2 separate regions of the Homo sapiens genome follow, and region 1 is linked to region 2. The links are contacts of gene promoters, found by promoter capture Hi-C in blood cells and fetal thymus (Javierre and others, 2016). All regions are on one chromosome and are shown on one strand. The core of a region is centred on a gene start or on the middle of the fragment in contact, and the rest is flanking DNA. Distances in the headings are between cores, read along the strand shown.

Region 1 (3,320 bases), core at 39-2,538, 120 kb before region 2:
TGGCTCAGGCTTCTTGTAAATAGGATAAGTTTGTCACAATGAACAATTGAACTTTTATTATGCTTTCCCTGCACAGTGGGAAGGAGTAGGTATTTATTAATATGTACAATATATTGGTGTGAAAACTAAGGATAATAGAAATTAAGTGACTCAACCAAACATCACAAGCCATGAAAAAATAAACTAAGGAGAAGAAGAATTTGCAGGGAGCAGAGTTTCACTTTCACGTAGGTAGCAAGGTGGCACTTCAAGGTAGAAACCCCTAATATATGGCCCAAAAATTGCAAGTGTATTTTGAAAGTAATGGGAATCCATGAATGTAATTTGATAAGGAAAGTGATACTGTGGTGTTTAATGGCGATTATTCTCATAGCAAAGAACAGGATTCAGAGAGAGAAATTATCATCTATATGGATATACTCTAAATAATAATAATAATAAAAACTGTCAATTGCTATGCTCTAACACCTTTACTATGGACTTTACATGCATCTCTCATGTAATCTAAGAGGGAAGTAATATTAGTGGCTCCATCATTTGAATAAAACAACCCTTGCTATAGAGAGGCGCTACAAGATCCTCTATAATCAAATAGCAAACCCTGGATTCAAAGCTACCTCTACTGCTTTCCAGTGGTCATATCTGATACCCATGGTGTGTGCTTAGAAAGAGGAAGTGAAGATGTACTTGAGTAGCATTCACTTTAAGTTAAGGCATCATTATCTGTTTGGGCTGCTGTGGAAACATCCTACTAATATCTGTTTTTACCTTCTATATTTAGTATCTATTGCTGCACAACAAATCATTCCAACATTTAGCTGCTTAAAATAACAAATAATTATATTCTCACACAGTTTCTGAACGTCGGGAGGCCAGGAGCCATTAAGCTGGTTTGTTCTAACTTGGAGTCTGTCAAGATGTTGACAGAGGCTACCATCATCTGAAGGCTTGACTGTGGCTAGAGGATTTGCTCCCTAGTTGGATCACATGGCTGTTGGAGTTCCAAGCTTCTTGCTAGAAGTTTTTAGTTTCTCATCACAGGGCAGCTAGCTTCCTCCAGAACAAATGATTAAAGAGAATGTGGTAGGGGCTGCATTGTCCGTTTTTATTAGGAGTGAATCACTGAACCCATCCACACTCAAGAGAAGAATTATACTCCAACTATTGAAACAAAGAATATAAGAGAATTTGTGATCATACTTTAAAACCACCACACCCTCTCTTTAATCAGCTCTACATGCTGCAGTTATTTTAATATTTTATAAACAAATCTGATCATATCTCTTTTTATTAAACGTTAAATGTATCTCATTGGTTTGTAGATTAAAAACCCAATGTCTTTGGTCCTACTTGATGTGGCCACTGCTTCCCAACCCTGCCTTTGTCATCTTCCACTCATCTTTGGCTTTCTGGCAACACTCTCTTGCTTTCAGTTCCACCAATATGCCAAATTCCTTTTGGTTCAGGACCTTTGCACCTGCTGCTTCTGTGGCCCAGAATTATCTTGCTTTTGCTTTTACTTATTCATCAGGTCTTGATCCAAAAAAAACCATCCCTCAGGAAAGCTTCTGTGACTCATAAGCCTTTATCAGATCCCCAGCTACAAGTTCTTCTTGTAGCTTGTACTTCTCCTCTGTGCCACTGATTATAGTTTACAGTGTTATATTTCTTTGATTTTTTGGTTATGGTTTTAAGTTTCTGTTTTGCTCACTATTGAATCCTAGTGCATGGTACAGGATATGGCTGGTATTAGTGTTTAATAAATGTATCTGTACTGAATATGCTACTATGAACGGAGGATGAGTTGATGGAACAAACACATCTGCTTTAAGATCCACTTTAAGAGTAGGCAAGTACATCTTTCTCTCTTATTTTTAATAACGACCTAAAGAAAAACAAACCTTGATAAGATATGCCAACAATGGGGGAATCAACAGAGGAAAAAAAATTAGAGGAAGATAAGGAAGGGATGTATGTAATCAGAACTCTGCTGTGGTATCTCAGAGCTGGCTAGCTCAGTGAAGAGATGCAGCCCTAATCTTAATGGCATTGATCTGGAACAGCTTGGACTCAAACTTTAGAATATATCTGCACATCAGGGTGGCTCCACAGGTGGAGGCTTACTATGCTTTAGAACTTTTATTCTGATGTTTTTCTTCATCAGCTGCCCATGATCCCATCATCCACAAATAATCTTAAAAAATGCACACATGGCAGTGTCTGGGCAATAGCCCATGGGTAAAAGCAGTACCTAGAGAATTACTTCTTTAGTTTCATCCTCTTTGTTAACATTTCCCTAGGGAGGCTCCTGGATCAGAACCATCCTAGGATTTGGCGACTCTCTTCCAATAGGTACAGGCTTCCGGGTGAGAGTTGGAAATTGTCCACAGCTACTCATTGTGTCGTCAAACTCTTTGCACTTGCAGGGACTAAGATGCCTGCATTTCTGAGGTTATTCACATAACAAGTGAGAAACAAAAACAGTTTGTTGGGAAATGAGTTCAGTTCCAGCAGCACAGCTCTGAGCCTAGAGATAAAACAAAGCTGCTTCTAAGAATAAAAGCAAATTCCGTGTTTTTCTCATTATGGTTTCTCCTGCATGAGTCCCTTAAAACCTCTTCTGTTGTGTCCAGGACTGAAAGCTTCTAGTGATCCGACTGAGTCTCTCTAATTGGGTGGTTGTAGTTCATCCTATTTTTCTTTAAAAAAATAAACTCATCAGCACTATAGCCTCAGGGGTCCATAAGGAACATGTTTATAGAGAAGAAGTTTTTGTGTTTATTAGCATGAAACAAAGCCCATTACACAAAAGCCTCAGAAACCCACTCTAGCCTCAGCAAGCTGTGGTTTCAAACATGAGCACGTGCTGTCACAAGCCATAAATCATTGCTTGTGACAGGCCCACAGGGCCCTGAGAAGGCTGTCCCTTCACTCAGCTAGGCTATTTGAGTCAGGGGAGCTTTAAAAAGACTACCTCCAAAAAATCACAACCATTCATTTTGGATTGAGGCTGTAGAAAGGACATTTCCTTCCAAGAAGGAATTTTTGAAGCACTTACTAACTTACTATCTGTCTGGCATATGATAGGTAATACATATGTATGTATGTATATATGGGGTTGAAATGAGTTTCTTGTTTTACGGATGAAGTCACTAGGTACCGAGAGATTAAATGGCTTGTCCCGGGTCACACAAGTAAGGGGTGGAATCAAAGTGTAAAAAAGGGGCTATCTAAACCCAAAGCCTCTCGTTTTCCTACCACAGTGTATATCCTCTTAATATAAGTCGAAGTTTGCACAAAAGCCTCTTTAGAGTCTCACT
Region 2 (3,262 bases), core at 744-3,243:
TCCACATCACTTAACTTAAAACTCTGAGTAAGTAGAAGACGCTTGTCTTTTTTCCTAAGTTCTACACAGTGATACCAAATATTAAGATATTAGAACCTTGCATAGACAATGCTGTACTTCAGCATATGAAACTCTGTTTAATATGTAACTCCTAAGGTTTATTGTGTGAACATATCTAAGTGGCCAGCACTTGCTGTACTGGGAACTTCGCCATCCATAAAATGGGTCCCTTAAGGTTTCAAGAAGCGTGCTTATTGATTGGGTAGTGTAACTTCCTTTTTTTCCCCTTTAAACGCGTTGGTGTTTTTAAAGCTACAAACCCTTAACATGATAGAAGGGACAGCTCATTATAAAAGCTAGGAAGAGCCGGGATTTGGATGTGAAAGGTTAAATTTGAGAAAAGAAATATGTAAAAAGTAAAACACAAAAATGCCTGCATCTTCTAATCATCACTCAACAGTGAAGACTCTTGCCCTTAACAGATTTATTATAACTAGAACAGGAAGGCAAGTGAGCATATTATAACGCTTCATTTCCATTGTTTTTCTTAATTTTTTCTAGTGCTAAACCATAATAAATAAGATCAGTTCAAAATTTTCTTGCTGAAGAGGAAAGGTTAATTATCTTTAAACAATATCTATTCAAAGACCTTTCCTAGTCTACAGGATGCCTGATTGAGTTAAAACAGGAAGAGGGATTAGTGTCTGAAGGAAGGTCTTGATGACCAGTAAGAAATTGAAGTAAAACTTATAAAACTCCCGAGACGTTTCAGTGGAGAATATTGAATACTGGGTCATATGTTCTCAATGAAATGGTAATCTCTATCAATAGTCTCTAAAACTTTAAAATTGTGATCACTAAAAAAATTTTTCATATGCACCACAGTGTATGTATAATTATTTATAAATAAGTACAGATACTACTGTATTAATCGCATACTAATAAAACATAAAGTGAAAATTATAAAGGGATGAGATTTACAAATAAATATAGAAATTCTAATATTTTGTTCCCAAATTTCGGTGGACTGTTCTTTGCATATCACTGAAGGCCACTGGTGAAATTCAAAATTAAATAATGTACTTGTAAGACTTTAAAATACGGTTTTAGAAAATTTCTTTCAAATATCATCCTTTCTAGTAGTGTAAAAGATCAAAGAACCAAGTAGCTATCCGCTTTTTTCCTACAAGTGAGTTTTGAAAAACAGCTGTCTAATGGAAAGCAAGATTTCTTGTCTATTTTCCCCTTCCTAGGCATCTTAAAAGTTAGGACATTTGGCCTTAAATTACTTATCAGATCCTTGCTCCCTCCTCTACCTCCTAGGATTTCCCCACATCAGCTGGCAGTCCCCAGGCACTGCCAAAGGGTGGTGAGAAGAGAAGCTACAAAAAGGGGGAAAAATAAGCTAAACTATTTGCTTTACTGTTACTAAGCAGGAAAAATCGGACCCTGCTTCATTTCAGAGAAGGAAATATTCCGGAACAGCCAACTTACTTGTTGTCTCTGCAACTTCACTTCTTTGCGAAGCTGCTCAACTTCCATTTTCAGTTTTTCCTTCTCTGGCAAATCTTCGATGTGAAGGGCAGGCATTTTCGCCCCAGAACCGGGCTCGGGCTAGCTCTGGCAGCGGAGCCGCTGGAAGAGCGGCGAAGCTCGGCGCGTCCCGAAACAACTGAAGGCCTGGCCCGCCGCCCACCCGCGCAGGATGTGACTGCAGCCCTGCTGCGGTCCCCAGCTCCCCGAGGGCTTGGCTTTCTCCGGGACGCTTGTCACGCCAGCGTGCCCCAGCTTCCTAGGACCTGAGAACTCTGCCTTTTCTCAAGTCCCTGCAACCCAGGAGGCCTGCCCGGGTGCTAGATGAGGGTTAAGTTTGAGACTGGGTCCAAGCAGCTTCCCGCTGCTCAATCGCCCAGCAGGGATGCTGGCCACGGACAGGCCCTGACTCAGGACCTGCCACGCCCGCGGGGGACGGCTGGGCTGGGGCTGCAGGACTGGGAACAGCAGAAGTTTTACTTTGTGTTCTCCGCGCACCCCCGCTCCTTTTTTTTTTTCCGTTTCCAAGTCACATCCGGGTTTTGTTTGTGAAGCTAGGAAAAGGAGTACACTACCCAGCAGGAAATAACTACCCTTCACCTCTCAAAGAGTTTTAAAAATATGCTAGATATAGCTTTTCCCTAATTACATACATAGGTTGTTGCAAAAGTAATTACTTTTCTCTAATTACATATATAGGTTGGTGCAATTAGTTTTGCACCAACGTAATAAATGCATAGTGGAGAATGCGGACGCTTAAGAAAAGGCTGAAAAGAAAATGAAGCTTAGCCCTAATCCCAGAAATACCCACCAGTGTTCTGCTCATTTGTGTCCATCCGGCTTGTTCGAGGCCTAATATGGGTTTATACATTTTGGGCGAGGAGGGGGCAACAGGGTGTGAATATCGTTTACAAGTTGCAAGAACATTTTCTATTATTAAATAATCATCTGCATCCTCAACAGCAGCAGAGTTTGTATTTTTTTTATTTTTCCGGGGGAATGTTATGTAGAGGGGTGCATCAAAGGATGATATAAGAGAAGACAGAAGCAGGAATCTTAGAGTTCTTAACCGAAAGCCTTTCTCCACTCCCCAACCCTAAGTTTTGGGTGACACTTGACACCAAGGATTTTGAATTCCTGGCTCCTGAACCTTCCTGGATGTAGGCAGTGGATTCATTTAGTATTAGTTTCTCCACTTTCTGGCAAGCACTATTTATCTAGCTGTTGCTCTGGAAAGCCAGGAAAAGTGTCCGATGTGAAAAAAGTTTACATGCAATAAAACTTTCCCTTTAACTGTAACTAAAGTCTTGTTGATGGTGGTCAAAAGAGTAGAAGAAAAATCAAACATGAATGTAAGAAACCTTCCCTAGCAGTTGGATATTTCTCTTTCTTTCCAGAGATAACCTCCTGCCTCACAGAGTCAAAGGCAAGTGAAATATTAACTTAATATTTCAGAGTAGCTGACCCAAGACACCCATGACCATTCCCTGTTTAGGAAGCAGGAGTTTTTGTTCGTTCCTAGTTTCTTACCACGCTCCGCTCAACCTCAATGAATAAATTAGAATGAAAAAAACAATGAACCACTTAATGAATACTCCTGGCGTGTAGTTGCAGCTCTGCCACAGGCCATCACTGAAGAAGTCATTTAATTTTTCTTAGTTTTGGTTTTCTAATTTGTAAAATGTATAGTAAGGCAGGGAAGTAGTGAATCAGCTAAGCTATGTTGTGT

The links. Contacts are between HindIII fragments. The CHiCAGO score rates a contact against its expected background, and 5 or more counts as called.
Region 1: a contact is called between a fragment that was not itself captured here and the fragment with the promoter of GNG11 in region 2, in 1 of 17 cell types (endothelial precursors). The highest score is 5.0, in endothelial precursors.

What each region holds. Positions count from the first base shown.
Region 1 is chr7:94,039,942-94,043,261 of GRCh38, reverse strand. All of the region lies in intron 1 of LOC130890646 (a long non-coding RNA gene), which reads right to left. Among named protein-coding and RNA genes, the nearest start is that of BET1, 37 kb to the right of the region's middle. The HindIII fragment of the contact is 558 bases long and covers 1,010-1,567 here.
Region 2 is chr7:93,920,466-93,923,727 of GRCh38, reverse strand. GNG11 (G protein subunit gamma 11) reads right to left here and starts at 1,993. Exons shown (of 2, transcript NM_004126.4): 1 at 1,495-1,993. The coding sequence starts at 1,590. All of the region lies in intron 1 of LOC105375402 (a long non-coding RNA gene), which reads left to right. RefSeq lists an enhancer at 1,756-2,391. The HindIII fragment of the contact is 4,145 bases long and covers 1-2,319 here.